4 separate regions of the Homo sapiens genome follow, and regions 1, 3 and 4 are each linked to region 2. The links are contacts of gene promoters, found by promoter capture Hi-C in human tissues and cell types (Jung and others, 2019). All regions are on one chromosome and are shown on one strand. The core of a region is centred on a gene start or on the middle of the fragment in contact, and the rest is flanking DNA. Distances in the headings are between cores, read along the strand shown. Region 1 has its middle 5.0 kb from the start of SMARCA2. Region 2 holds the start of DMRT2 (doublesex and mab-3 related transcription factor 2). Region 3 overlaps LOC105375951 (a long non-coding RNA gene). Region 4 has its middle 400 kb from the start of SMARCA2.

Region 1 (4,289 bases), core at 932-3,431, 960 kb after region 2:
GATAAGCCCAATAACAGCTGAAGGTGGTCAAAAAGTAAAATACTATAATAAAATATCATATAACAGCATGGGAGATGAATATATGGATTTAGCTGAGGGGCTTAGAGGTAAGCTACAGTGTTACATTGGTACCGAAGCACATTATCAATCAGAGAAGCACAGCACAGAACAAAGGGTAGCAGGTACAATGGCCAAACAAAAGTGAAAATATCTGAACAATTTACGACAGAAAATTTGAGAACCTGAATTCATGTTCTGATTCCTCATGTACAACTGCCCAAAGATGTGTCAAAACCTCAAAGATATATTGATGACAACACAAAAAATTCTTTCTAGTCTAGTCAACAATATATAATGCAGTATTATTGAGGAAATGCTTTAGAATAAACTTATCCTCAGAAAGCCCATCTCTGGAGATAAATGGAGTCCTTCTTTGGGCAGTTAGAATGCATTTGGTTTACCTAAAGAAACACTGAATTAGGATTTTAAAGGGTAGATATGTTTGGATATACAAAATGTGCACACTTAGTTTTATAAAAGTTATGGAGAGGATTAATTTCTTACCAGAAAATTATCCTAGGTTATTGAGGCTGCTGATACCTCTGGGTCAATGACTCTTACCCCTTTCCGGGAAGATCCCCTTGAGAATCTGATGAAATGTACAGACTCTGTCTGCAGAAAGCATACATTAACACGATCCTAGGATTTTGAACACAGTTTCAGGGGATTCTTAGATGTTCCAAAGATCATTTGTATTCCACCCCCATCAACCCTCCATCACGGATTAAGAACCCTGTACTGATGACAAATTTTGGGGCAGTTTTTACATGAGCAACACAGATTACTCTTGAGTGTGGAGTTCTACCAAGCTTAGTTAAAAATTCTGACTTCATCATTTAGTCATCTCCAAGTTGTTTAATCACATACCCCTTACAGTTAAAAAGCAAAAAAAAAAAAAAAAAAAAAAAAAAAAAAGATAGAGCATGATTTATGTATATTTACTCATAACACATGTATTCATTATTAATATATTATGTGCATTATAAAACATACACAAAATAAAAATTGTAAAAGAATAAGATGAATAGAAAATTTTCAATTATCTTGCTAAGCATGCTATCATACAATCAATAGTATCTCAAGGAAACATACATGCTTAGAACAGAATTAATCATTTATGAAAGTTAATATAAATCCAAATTTCAAATAGTCCTGGAAAATTATGAATGTTTTTGACCTATTTCTTTTTTTTCTCTTCTTTTTTTTTGGGGGGAGATGGAGATTTACTCTTGTTGCCCAGGCTGGAGTGCAATGGCGTGATCTTGGCTCACCGCATCCTCTGCCTCTCAGGCTCAAGCGATTCTCCTGCCTCAGCCTCCCGAGTAGCTGGAATTACAGACGTGTGTCACCACGCCCGGCTGATTTTGTATTTTTGGTAGAGACAGGGTTTCACCGTATTGCCCAGGCTGATCTCGAACTCCTTACCTCAGGTAATCCGCCCGCCTCGGCCTCCCAAAGTGCTGGGATTACAGGCGTGAGCCACAGCGCCCGGCCTGACCTATTTCTTGTTAGATCTCATTAGGCTGTCATTGTTTTAGTCCTCAATTTGGCTGGAAAAGAGTTCTCAGAGGTTAAACTGGCAAATTTGATCCTGATTTTCACCTGTGCTTATATTATTGGTATTATCTCAATTTTCTATTTCCTCACAGAAATTGTTTTTTAAGCCACGTGCTCCCCAAATAAGAGAGTTGATTGATATAGGCCGGGCACGGTGGCTCACGCCTGTAATCCCAGCACTTTGAGAGGCTGAGGTGGGCGGATCACGAGGTCAGGAGATCGAGACCAACCTGGCTAACACGGTGAAACCCCGTCTCTACTAAAAATACAAAAAATTAGCCGGGCGTGGTGGCGGGCGCCTGTAGTCCCAGGTACTCGGGAGGCTGAGGCGGGAGAATGGCGTGAACCCGGGAGGCGGAGCTTGCAGTGAGCAGAGATCAAGCCACTGCACTCCAGCCTGGGCAACAGAGCGAGATCTGTCTCAAAAAACAAAAACAAAAACAAAGACAAACAAAAAAAAAAACTAGATGATATAATCTTAAGAATTTATTTAACGTGGAACCTGTAAAATTAAGGCAATATCAATGCTTAAAAAGATGTCAATGACAATGAAAGAACCAGAAGGTGCCAGTATCACCCCTCTGCCTGTGGCGCTTTTTGTTTTTCAGTACTCTTCAGCTACACTACATGACACATGACCAGTTTACTTAGGGACCATGTAAAACACTCTAGGGTCAAGGGTCAATGAGTATAATAAATATACATAAAGCTCTTTTTTGTCCTTGCATCATTACTTTTTTCAATTATTAAAGAAAAAAGAAACAGATTTTCTTCTGTTCTTCCTATTTCACAGTAAATTGTCTTGGTCACTCCGCTTTGGAGATCCCTGCCTTAGGCAAATTACTTCCTGATTCTCAGTTTCCTCACCTGTAAAATGGAGATGAAGTCATAGATCTCGTAGGGTTAAATGGATTAAACAACATATGTACAAGTCTCTGTACAACTTCAGGCATGTAATTTAAAAGAGAAATAAAAAGGAGCTGCAATTATAATTGTGACTACTGTATTAAACAATTGCCATGTATGCATTCATGTTACTCCTAGCCTAATTTAAAAACAAACAAAACCTCTTGTCGGTGCTCTTTCTATGACTACAAGAGCTGTAGCTTCTCCTCATCTTCCCACATCCCCCCTCCCCAAAACAAAACAAAACAAAACCAAACAAAAACCAAACACATTTTCCAAGCGTTTTCAAGCCTTGGCAGATACTGTAAAGATTCGGAACACTTACTGATGTTGTTCATTAACATGATAATTACTAATAGTGAAGACCGGCTAAATTTTCTATGTCAGGTAATTTTATTATCTATCTCTCATCCTTTCCTTCAACAAAGTTTTTTTTTCTTTTCTTTTTTTAAATACAATGTGCTAGGTATCAGGGTAATTGCTGAGGTTTCAAAGATGAATCGAAACACCCTCCAGGCACTAACCATCTAGAGGACAACACCAAACAAATAATTGCATCAAAGTGATAAGTGCTATAATGGAGGCGCACACCGGTTGCTATGGGAGCAGAGTAGGACAAGCAGCTTCCTCTGCCTGGGGAGAACAGGGAAGACCACTAGAAGGATTCTGGGTCATAGTTGAGTTTTGAGGATGTGGGTTGAGGATCTGCACTTCAGTCAGAGGGGAGAATGTCCAATGTGGTCACTTAGGAACCAAACGGTAGACAGGTTTTCCCTGAGCCCAGGCATTTTTGGCGGCAGGGTCAACAACGCTGGTAGAGACCTGTCTATGCACAGCCTAGGATAACATGCCAAGAAGTTTGAAACTTACCGTAAAATGGATTGGGAATAGACAAAGGATTTTAAGCTAAAGAACGATATAATCATAAAGAGAATTGGGGGTGGTATTTTGGGGGAATGATTGTGAAAAACATAATTTATTGAACATGCCCATTAGAAAAAAAAGAGAGAGCGGGGTGTGGTGACTCACCCCTGTAATCCTAGCACTTTGGGAGGCAGAGGCGGGTGGATCACTTGAGTTCAGGAGTTCCAGATCAGCCTGGCCAACATGGTGAAACCCTGTCTCTACAAAAAATACAAAAATTAGCTGGATATGGTGGCGGGCACCTGTAATCCCAGCTAATCGAGAAGCTGAGGTTCGAGAATCCCTTGAACCTGGGAGGCGGCGGTTGCAGTGAGCCAAGATCCCGCCACTGCACTCCAGCCTGGGCAATAGAGCGAGACTCTGACTCAAAAAGGAAAAAAAGAAAAAAGGAGAGAGAGGAGTGTTTATTTCTGTAATAAATTTACTTGTTAATTCTAAACTATTCTTTAAATTAAATGTCAGCTGATTCAATTTGTCAAATCTTGGTTTCCATTACTGAAGATGAAATACTCACTGCCTAAACGGTCTTACCTGCTCGTGTTTGAAGCTAGGCAACATTTCAGGCAGCATTAACAGTTTGTCTGTTGGGACTAGAAGCTTCCTAACGTTGTGCATGGAATTTTTCTTTATGAGGGTGTTGTATCCAGATACCAAGTTTTAAACCCAGTATCTACTCTATACAGAATGTAACCAAAGCAGACTTACATAACAAGTGAATGTGGCCATACAGACATGAAAAAGTGACTTCTATCTTTTGATACCAAACTAGAAAGAGAAAAGCAAGTTCAGAGAACACATTATGACTCATCAAAGTCCAAAAAGAAAAGCTGCGTGTGAACGTA
Region 2 (2,500 bases), core at 1-2,500:
TGCCTGGTCACCGGGGAGGAACTTTACAACATCACTGAAGGTTTGAGAATAGTGCTTCTGGCTGGTCGCGGTAGTTCCTAAGCTGCCTTTGTTCCCACTTCTCTGATCCAGGTTAACTTTTAACATTCTGACAAACTCGGACAAAAGTAACGTTGGGATTACGTCAGGAATTCCCACCCTTCAACAAATATTTGTTGCGGGCCTACTATGTACTCAGTGCAATGATACCCAATTTTGTAGTCTCCTAAACAGATCCTACTCGAGAGGTCTTGATTATTTACAGATGCAGTTAGAAAAGCGCCCATATTATTTTTAATTGAGTTCAAGAAATAGAATGCAGCGTTGAATTAGAAGACTAATTCCTTCTTTTAATATGTTGAAAATTTTTTATCGTTAAACATTTTGTAAAGGATTTTTTGAGGGAGTCGTTAGAAAGTCTATAAATACAACTACGCACACTAAAAAGTAGTCATCTTTTTAAAAATAACTTTGTTTAAATGCATGCTTAGTGTGAATGGATTTACCTAATTCTCTTAATAGCATGCATTTCTGATCTTCCCTACATTAACTGTAATAGCAACTGATATAACAGAAAAATGTAAGTGACTTGTAGTCGACTTGGCCACCTGCCACACGGGCTCGGTGAAGGTTAATGAGGAGCTATTTGGCACTTCGAGAATAGGTGGCACTAGACACAGAAATATCAACAGGCTATTTGTATGCTAACTAGGAGTTTCGGTGCCAGGTAACCATTGATGTACTCTTGCAGGAGAAAGAAGGATGTCGCTGTACGCCCCGAAAGAGAGGCATCATTTTTACGCCCAGTTTGGATTAATGATTGATTGAGTCGCAGAAATGCTTGTGATGCTGATAGAGGCCAATACTGGTCTTTCTGATCTCTTCCTCGTCGTTTATTACCTTCTCTTGTGGACAACGCATTCCTAAGAATGTATCTCTGCTTGTTTCCCAGTCCGCGAGATAAATGGTGACTTCTCTCTTGCAGGCACCGTCATACCTCGGGTTTAGATTCTGGACAGGCGAGCCGGCTGCACCGAAGGCCCGGTAGGCGGACTCTGGCGGAGCGCTTCAGAGAGAAGAGTGTAGACCGCGGGAGGCGGAGGGCTCCCTGCCAGCGTGCCTCGGCCAATCAGTATTCACACCGCCTGACAACCGGCCAATCAGAGGACGTAAAGCTCCGGGGCCTGAGCGGACAGTACTAGGAAGGGGAGCGCAGTCTGCAGACTGAAGCCAGTGGCGCTGCGCTGAATGCAACTGCGCGCGCCCGCCGGGTGAGCCAGCGATCTGAGCCAGGCGGGGGCGGCCCGACCTTTCCCGCCCAGCCTGGGTCAGAGGAAGCCGAAAGCGGCCTCAGCAAGGTGAGGCGCCCGAGGCTGCAGAAGACCGAGCAGAACTTTGCAGAGTTCGGGATGTGCTGGGCTAGGTCGCTGAGGACTTGACTGGCTTCCTCCCTCCTTCCCTCCACCTACCTTCTCCCTCCCCCTCCACCATCCAGTGGGTTCGTTCCGGGCCTCCAGCTATCAGCTCCCGATCTCGTGTTTGAGGGTAGCGACCCCGATTTCTGTTTGCATGCACAGCCAGCAGCCCTAGCGCCAGATCCTAAAGCTGGATATCTTTTAACTGGGCTACCAGCCCGGGCCTCAAAGTTTTGGTGAGTGCTGTGATGCCGCTCGGGGTGTCAGGGAGGGCAAAGGGCGTGAATCATCTTTCACCTTTTCTGTGTGACTTGGATGCCTTACCTTAAATATATAAACCAAGGCCTAAGTACAGAGAGCCCACGCGGCTCAGCCCTGTGCACCTCAGGTACTATTAAGGCTGGACGGGCGTCTGTATTGTGCTCTTTGCCCTTATGGGACGCTAATGACAACAAAATTTTGGTTTTCAGTTGAGTATTTTGGGGAGGGGGGTGAGAGGACCTCTTCAAGCCCAAGGAGGGGTCCTTGTGGTGGTGTAGGCTGATGAGAGGCATTTGGGAAGCATAGAGTGGTACTTCAGTGAGTCTGAAGGGCCACTTGTAATCAAAGGAAAACTGTTCTTCCACGGATAGTTTTATATGCATCATGGCCATACTAGTTGAGTATGGGGAAATCCGACAAGTGGCCTGGGGCTGCCTATTTGGACACAATATTTTGTGTGTGTGTGATAAGTGAGTTACCCAGGGACTTGTCCGGAAAGCCCGTGTAAAGCCAGAGAGGGCCACGGTTAAAGGTCAGGTACTCACAGAGCACTTAGAATTAATAAAATAAAACCTTTGTTGGGTTGTGGATCCCTGGGGGCCCTGGAGATACAGGAAAGGCACGTGTGGCCTGGAAGTGAGGGACATGTAATGAGAACAGGATGACTCAAGCGGCCGGAGGCGGGCAGACCAGGAGCTTTGGGCCGGAGGCTCAGGGATGGTCCCTGACGGCGGCCGGTGGGTCTTTGGATTTCTTTGTGTTTCCCCAGAGTGAGGGCCGCCAGGCTCAGGCCCCAGCGAAGCCCC
Region 3 (4,399 bases), core at 1,072-3,571, 890 kb after region 2:
AATCCACAGACTATAACACAATGTATACTTAAATTATTAATAAAACAGATATGAAAGCAAAGTGCTAGAATAGCTCATGGGGAGAATTTCCCATAGAAAAATAGGAAATTCTTCATGGAGGGGGAATCCTTTCAGCATTCCATGATTGAAAGAAAAATGAGGCTGGATGCGGTGGCTCACGCCTGTAATCCCAACACTTTGGGAGGCCAAGGTGGGTGGATCCCCTGAGGTCAGAAGTTTGAGACCAGCCTGACTAATATGGCGAAACCCCATCTCTATTAAAAATACAAAAATTCGCCGGCCGTGGTGGTGGGCGCCTGTGATTCCCAGCTACTTGGAAGGCTGAGGCAGGAGGATAGCTTGAACCCAGGAGATGGAAGTTGCAGTGAGAAGAGATAGCGCCACTGCACTCCACCCTAGGTAACGGAGCAAGACTCTGTCTCAAAAAAAAAAAAAAAAAAAAAAAATGAGCTCACTGAGCTCATTAACTCTTATAAGCTTTTATCAAATTGTTTAGAACCTGACATAATCACACAATTTCACAGAGGAGCATACTATTGGAGGAAATAGAAATTTAGAAAGAGATAATAGAAGGTATAACGATGATAAACAACATTTAATAAATGCCTACAAAATACCAAATGCTTTAAATATTTAATTTAATTTAATCCATATAAGAATCTTGCAAGGCTGGTGTTATTGGTGCATTGCACACTTGAAGAAACCAGAGCTCAACGATGTTAAGTAATTTGCCCAGTTCACAAAGTTCCTAATTGCCAATGCCAGGATTTGGAGCTAGGTCTATTTTTTACAACCTTGGCTTTTCCTATTTCACTATGCTACCTTAAAAAAAGTATATAAAAGGCAAGTAAGTGCTTGATGTCATTCTTCCTGAAGGACATGAAAGGAATGTGCAAACAGCACGGTCATTTTCTATAGTAAAATCTTTTAATTATGACCCAAATCACAGCACTGCGGTGCTAAGCTGATTGTGAGCTCACCTGAAGTCAAAGCACTTCCCAGCAAGTTCAGTGGCAACACTCGGCTCCTTTTCTATTAGCAAATAGAGAACCCTAGGAAGGTATGTTTTATCCAACTTAGACCAAAATGTTATGGAGTGAAACATTTATAAGGTTGCCAGTGGGAGGTGAAAGAAAAGAAAAGGGTAGAGTTTGCAACTTAGTATCTCTAAAACTTCATTTAGGGACCTACTATTATTACCGTTCTGGAAATAAAGTACCTGTACGGCCCTTTTAAGGACTGTTTTAGACAATATTCACAGGGAGCATAAAAGCCCTGAATGAACAAGTTGACAGAATTGTGTGGCTGGGAGCATCCGTCTAATTTGATGAGTTTAGAACCAATTCTGCAGCCCAAATGAAGAGTCTGTGTCTCAGATGATACTCATGATTCACTAATGGGTTGCTTTTCATAAGTAACGAGATGACTCACATCATTTGTTTCCCAAGGTAGGCGATGTTTTCTGTCATTACTTTTAATGATTTATTTACCCTTCACCATTTTTAATCATTGAACGCTGTCAATTCATTGGAATCCTCTGGACCAAAATATTATAAGTTTATCTTCTTTTAAAGCTTAGAATAAAATCAGGCAATTGCTTCACAGAACTTCAGTTTACTGCCTTGCTTATTCTTTTGTGTCACATCAGATATACATGTATATATAAAATATATGTAATATATATGTATATATATAATATATATGTATATATAATATATATGTATGTATATATATTATATATATGTATATATAATATATATGTATGTATATATATTATATATGTATATATAATATATATGTATGTATATTATATATGTGTATATAATATATATATAATATATATGTATATATATAATATATATGTGTATATATATAATATATATATATACACACACACACATATGATATAGGAAAATTCAGAAATTAGAATTGAGCAAATGCTGCCCCGGTTCTGCCTGCAACCCTATTTTCCATGATAGATGGTAGAGAAGAGTATACTTGAAGATTCCAAGTAAAAATATCTACCAGAACTTTGAAGAGGAAGACACAAGAATAGAAAAAGGAAATATATCCTGGGACAAGGTATGCATATGGAAAAGCCAATTAAATACTTTGTTTTAATTAATTTAAGTGTCCTTTAACTCACTCTTGATAATATATCCCATCTTGGATTGATTTCTCTGTAAGAACACGACATCCAACCTCATCATGTCTTGGGGTAAAAAAAAATTCACCAAGACCATGGAATTCATTCATCCACTTCAACATTTACCGAGAACCTATTATTGCTACTCTGTGCTCATCACTATACTTCCAGTTTTGAGTGATGAAAATAGAGAATTAGCAAGGGTCATAAAACAACTTATTCCCCAAGGCTTACAGTTAATCTATTGATTATGCATATTTGTCACCCATAGGGGTATAATTTCTGGTTCTCTCTGGAATAGATAATTTGCACATTTGAAAGGTTTTTAAGTGCGCTTTCAGTCCTGAAGCAGTAAGTGTATCTCATAAGTCTAGTTAAGAAATAAAGGCATGCTAAGTCATACTCCTCAAAATATTAATACATAACTGAAGAATATTTGGCTTACTGTGTTGTCTTGTTAAGGAAAATGGAAGAGATGGTGACTTACCATGACAAGGTAAATATCAAAAGATCAATGCTAGAATTTTAATGAAAATCATTTAAGCTTGCCCCATGGGAAGTTTAGCTGATCAATTCTGAGTACTAGGCTTATACTTCAGAGGCATGTTAATGGTTAAGCAATTTTGTTCATTTATAAAAGGAGTGGGGGTGTGGAGAATAGGAACCCAGTGATTGGCAGAGTACTTACAAGTCTGCAAGACACAGGAAAATTGCAAAGATAATGTAGTAGTTTTCATGGAGCATTGCCCTGTTACTATAGTTTCATCTCAGCAAAGGGCACTATCAGCACCAAACAAGTGTGATATACAGCTCCTCAGTCAAAATGGGAGCAAAACCAGACCTGCTAAGGAGGAAGACACCATGGCAGAAGCGCTGGTCAGGCTAAAGGCCAACTATGCCTATGAAATCTGGGACAAATAGTAAATACCAGCAATTTGAGGTTGGCTCAAAAATGAAGGGACAGGTATGAAGCAGGAATGCATGAGATATTCTTTGAAGCAAGATGGTATGACTGTCTTTTCCTCCCAGGTTTTATTCAGCATTTCCATGTCCCTTCTGATCAGACCTCTGACAGTGGGTGAGGCCAAAAGCCAGACAGACACTGGGCCACTATTTCCTATGTAAGGAGACTACTAGGTACAGAGTACAGTATTTTGAATTTAGGGGTAAAGTGGGCCAAGAGCTCTGCAAAGATGACTCTTGATGTGAAATAATGACCACTACATTCTCTTGGGAGCAGCTGGTGTGAACCAGCACCCCTGAGCAACCAGGACCTGAGAGAATGATGTGTTTATTTATGTGAAGCTGGGTGCTGATGCTCATCATTTTCATAATTACTTTATTTCTCATCTCCCCCATTTCCATGGGCCAAACATAAAGTGTGCAGGAAAGCAACTACCTATATGTGCTTCTATTTACTCAAGTTTACAGCTATCGTACAGTACTGATTAATCCTCCCTTCTCCATGACACTGAGGCAGTAGCATTCTAATGCCATCTTTATTATTGTTCGCCAGATCGCATACTACTGCATACAGAAATAGGGTAAATCACGGAACTAGTGTTTGAGGTCCATAAAATGCAAGGTTATGAATATTTCATTACTATACATTTTATTTCCCTGTCTATTCTGCATCTCCCAAAATGTTGTTTGTTTACTTATTGGCTCACTGTTCACCAGAAATACTTAATTCTTAATACAAAGTGTGGACTGGATCACCAACCCCTGCTTTGTGGCCTGAGCTACATTTGAAAGTAATGATGGACTTTTTTCTCTCTCTTTTTAATCATCCCTTCAATCCACAAATACTTGACTGCCAGGTTACTTCACTAACAGGAGTTTCAGCTTCTTCGTCATAATTGTATTGATTTGCAAGCCCCGCAAATCAATTCCCAAACATTTCTCCTGTGAACTATGGCTACGTATTTAAATTTTTCTCAACGCCCCATTGTATCCGTCTTTGGCTGAAGTAAGCAGTTAGACTTTTGCTGCAGATCTTGGCAATGAAAGACACATTGTGCAAGTGCAATTAGCTTCACTCCCTGCACTGTACAAATGATTTGTATGAATCAGCTGGTCCCGCGAAAGATGCAGCCATTATCACCTGCTTCTGAGTTTTCCTTTAACCACAAAATTTATATTAGTAAATAGCCAGGGGGATTCAATCTCAGCAAAATCAGAGTCTGAATCCCCAGCATTAAGGTGCTAACTTCTCTCCTGCTATAGGGTATA
Region 4 (4,319 bases), core at 970-3,469, 560 kb after region 2:
TGTCAGTCGTGTGTTTGGTTTAATTCTGCAACTTAAGTGTTACAGTGACTGGAACAGCCCAGATCAAATTCCAGTCCTGTAGGCTTTGGCTGGATGAGTGTGCTAGATCAGTGTTTCTCATACTTTAAAGTGCATATGAATTACCTAAGATGTTGCCAGAATGCAGATGCTGGTTCAGCAAGTCTGGGGTGGAGCCCAAGATTCTGCATTTCCAAGGAGCATCCAGGTGATGCTGAATGCTATCAGTTTTTGGACCACATTTCCAGAACTGGGCTATAAACTCAGGCCTTTCAACAGTTCTAAGTGTTTCTGATTCTGAGCACCATTAAAATTGTAGACTCTCTGGGACAGGAGATGTTACACCAGATGGCCTCCTGTAATGCTGAATGCTTCAATGCAAAGTTAAGTTGGGCCAGTTTCTGATTCCTTTTCCTCATAATTCATTAGGGTTACTCCAAAAAATTTATTGTGCTGTGACCACTAGCTTTGTTTACATTTTCCCAATAGATATTCTCTAACTTACCTGTGGACACTCTAGAGACAGTTATGACAAGGCTTTGGGTATGTGTCAAAGTCTGTGACCCTTCCTCAGCTCTGATATTCACTAGCATTTATCAGAGACACGAAAATATAAACTTCAAGCACCCACACACTTTTCCCTTTGAAGACTCCATTTTCATTTAAATATTTATTGAGAAGGAAAACAGTATTGGCAAACAGGACCAGGCTAAGAATGGCAACTTTTCATTACAGTGTGAGATTTAGCATAGTATATTCTCACTATATATAACTCCTTGGTTTTGTGATAAGATCAAGAAGCTTTACATGAATTTTGTTATAAATCAATACAAAATGTTAACACATGTATATAATTTTTAATTTTATTATATACATATGAATTTTTCTTATGAAAAGCGTGAATTTTTAGGAAAGATACTTTTAATGAACTTTGATGATATTTTTCCTCAAAACTATGCAAATTCTGTTGCATTGGAGATGTCTGTAGGACATCAAAGAGCTGGTCTCCACAGAGGAGGTGAAAATTCAAGACTTTGACACATACCCAAAGCCTCTCAGCAGAAGTTTGAGGACTTTCCACTATAGTGATATTTGGAGTTGTAGGATGGAAGAGAAAATTCAGTGGAATATTGGGGAATGTCTCCTTCTGCCTAAAATCTCCTCTGCTAGCAACAAATACCCCATTTACATGATGTAATTATCATGCATTGCATGCCTATATCAAAATACCTTATGTAGCCCATAAATATATACAACTATGTACCCACAAAAATTAAAAATAAAATATCCTCCTCTAGTCCAGCTGAGATGTTCTTTATTTTATAAATCTCCCACTCCTAAGCAAAACACTGAGCAAGATAATTAAAGTTGAAAGGGACTTTAAAGTCATTTAATATAACTAGAGTGACTATATGATTTATCTTCCAAACTGGGACATTTTTGATAGCGAAATGGGGTAGAACTAATAATTATGCTAGGGAAACATGTAAACTAGAACTGTCCTGGGAAAACTGAGATGCATGGACACCCTAAATATAATCCAGCCTTTCAATGAGGTTAAAAATTCACCCAATCTCGGCGCCGTGGCTCATGCCTGTAATCCCAGCACTTTGGGAGGCTGAGGCAGGTGGATCATGAGGTCAGGGGTTCAAGACCAGCCTGACAAACATGCTGAAACCCCATCTCTACTTAAAAAAAAAAAAAAAATTAGCCAGGTGTGGTGGCACGCGCCTGTAATCCCAGCTACACATGAGGCTGAGGCAGGAGAATCGCTTGAGCCTGGGAGGCGGAGGTTGCAGTAAGCGGAGATCGAGCCACTGCACTCTAGCCTGGGAGACAAAGGGAGACCCCGTCTCAAAAAAAAAAAAAAAAAAAAATTCACCTGATCTCATCTCAGTTGGTCATCTGAACTCTTCACTACAATACCTGAGTAGGGGTACCCATGCCTGCACAAAGGAATTTATTCCATTGTTAGGTAAATTTAGATTATTTTAGTTGTGAGAATGTTCTTTCTACCATTGCCATGGTATTTGCAAAACATTCCCTTAACTTCATGCTGCCACTTTGGACAACCCAGTACAAGTGGGCTCCCTCTTGTTGGTGTTACTGCTGAAAGGACTGAGTGATTTTCTCTGTTAGGCTGAGTTCCTCAAAGCTACTTGCCTGTGTCTCCCACTCTGTGTCTCTCCCCACTAGTGAATGATTGACTCAACTGATAGACGAGTCCCTCTACAAACAATCTGAGTCTTACGAAATGTCCTAATTAGGACTATTGGAAGACATCTAGTCCAACCTCTAATCCAGTGTTCTCATCCAAAGGAAATCAGAATTTTCTCTAAGACACCCCTTCCAAGCTGTTGTCTATTCTGTCTTTAAACATTTCCAATCAATGGGAAATTTACTGCTTTCAGAGGTAGACTATTCCATCTTTGCCCAACTCATGACTGAAGAATGTCCTGCCAAAGTGCTTCAAAGTTTCATGATACACTCTATGGGAAATTTTGTGATAGGAATTTTGATCTTAGGATTTTGGAGTCAGTCATAAGACGAAATCCACGTTTAGGAAATATACATACATTTAGAGTGAATCATTATTGCTTTAATTTATTCAAAAATATTTGTTGACCATGCATTACTTTTCAGAGATTAACCAGGTATGCTGCTGAGTCCCAAGAAAATTGTCATCAAGCGAGAGATGATAAAATTATATGATAGCCCTTATAACATTTTATTTTTATTCACTTATAAAACTTACATAGGCATAAAAAAAAGGGAGACCAATTCAGTGTTGGCAGGACAGGAGAGACTCCTCAAAGGAAGTAGTAGATGAATAGATGAACAGTATTTCTCTAGACAAAGAAGATGGAGAAAGCCACCCAACAGAGAGTACAAGATGTGCAGATATAAGCGTCTCAAATTAGATGACCCAACAGTTCTCAGAATTGATTCCACTATTGATTTTCAGATTAAGTGACTGGGCTATTTTTATATTCAAGAATGAGATTCTTAAATTTGTTAACACTGTATCTTACAGTGTGAATGAAGCTGACTTGGCGATTCTTAAAGTCTTCCATGAATGTATTCTTGGAAGTCTTTGTTCTCGTACTTGAAGTATAAGGGATATGGACTAGGTAATCCCAAGATTCTGTTATAACTGGAAAATTCTATTAGTTACATGGGTGCAGCAGTAAAAAATTCCTAGACTGGGAGGCTGAGAGCTCTCCTGTGTCCAAACTTCACTATGAATTAGCTATTGCAACTGAGAAAAGTCCTTCTTCTCTGTAAGAATTTCCTCTTTGTAAAATTAGGACCATACAAAGTAATTGTTAAAGTTCTTCCTGGACTTTCTATTTTATGATATTATCTCCTTCCTTTCTTTGAGTTTGCTCTATATCCTTTGTAAGGAAACTATCTTCCTTTCTTTCCTTGTGTATTGTGTAATGTCCATGTTAAGAATTGGGAACTGGCTTTGCCTGAGCTTGAGGGTGACCAATGGTCAATTCCATTGATTAGAGGGAGCTGAGGGTGAAGGGGAACAGAAAAGGGTTAGGGAAGTTAGAGACTGCCATGTATCTCAGCGCAGCAATTTGAATAGGAAGTATGAAGCCTATAAGAGATACAGGGTGAGACTTAGCATTTTACTACATTTTTAGTATCCTCAGCTCTGGAAGAATAATTCCCAGATTCCCAGAATTAACTCATAACTTCCTTTTCTCAGTATTTCAAAGAGTATCAAATTTGTTTTTTTAATTATGAAACATACTTTTAATTTTAAACATACTGAGAACTATAGAAAACAGTATACAGACACCAGTGTACCTACCACCCAAATTTAATATTTTTTGTCTACATATGAGCTTCAAATCATTTTTCTTATAAGAAAATATTGCATTACAAATGTAACTGAAGCCCTAGAACACTCCTCCGAATTCCCTCCTCCCCAGGGGTAAATACTGTCCTGAAGTTGACATATGTCATTCTAGTGCATACGTTTTTTACTTCCACACGTTTATTCTTAAAATATACATGTATAGTGCTATATTGTGCCTTTCAAAATTTCACATAACTGGTATTATTATCTCTCTGTCTTTTTTTTTTTTTTTAAGGCAGGGTTTCACTCTGTTGCTCAGGCTGGAGTGCAGTGGTGCAACCATGGCTCACTGCAACCTCAACCTCCCAAGGCTCAGGTGATCTTCCCACCTCAGCTTCCTGAGTTTCTGGAACTACAGGATTGCGTCACCATGCCTGGCTAGTTTTTCTATTTTTGTAGAGATGGGTGTTGCCATGCTGCCCAGGCTTGT

The links. The method cuts DNA at HindIII sites, captures the fragments that hold promoters and counts their contacts. A contact is called where the count stands out against the background at its distance.
Region 1: a fragment that was not itself captured here is called in contact with the fragment with the promoter of DMRT2 in region 2 in 1 of the 25 tissues and cell types used here (hippocampus).
Region 3: a contact is called between a fragment that was not itself captured here and the fragment with the promoter of DMRT2 in region 2, in 2 of the 25 tissues and cell types used here (dorsolateral prefrontal cortex and mesenchymal stem cells).
Region 4: a fragment that was not itself captured here is called in contact with the fragment with the promoter of DMRT2 in region 2 in 2 of the 25 tissues and cell types used here (H1 embryonic stem cells and lymphoblastoid cells).

The regions. Positions count from the first base shown.
Region 1 is chr9:2,008,247-2,012,535 of GRCh38, forward strand. No RefSeq gene overlaps it. Among named protein-coding and RNA genes, the nearest start is that of SMARCA2, 5.0 kb to the right of the region's middle. RefSeq lists an enhancer at 4,261-4,289. The HindIII fragment of the contact is 5,967 bases long and covers 1-4,289 here.
Region 2 is chr9:1,049,107-1,051,606 of GRCh38, forward strand. It overlaps DMRT2 (doublesex and mab-3 related transcription factor 2), which reads left to right and starts at 1,251. Exons shown (of 4, transcript NM_181872.6): 1 at 1,251-1,669; 2 at 2,464-2,500. RefSeq lists an enhancer at 1,023-1,892. The HindIII fragment of the contact is 14,990 bases long and covers 1-2,500 here.
Region 3 is chr9:1,942,528-1,946,926 of GRCh38, forward strand. The region is part of intron 2 of LOC105375951 (a long non-coding RNA gene); the gene reads left to right. Among named protein-coding and RNA genes, the nearest start is that of SMARCA2, 71 kb to the right of the region's middle. The HindIII fragment of the contact is 4,864 bases long and covers 1-4,399 here.
Region 4 is chr9:1,608,829-1,613,147 of GRCh38, forward strand. No RefSeq gene overlaps it. Among named protein-coding and RNA genes, the nearest start is that of SMARCA2, 400 kb to the right of the region's middle. The HindIII fragment of the contact is 5,656 bases long and covers 1-4,319 here.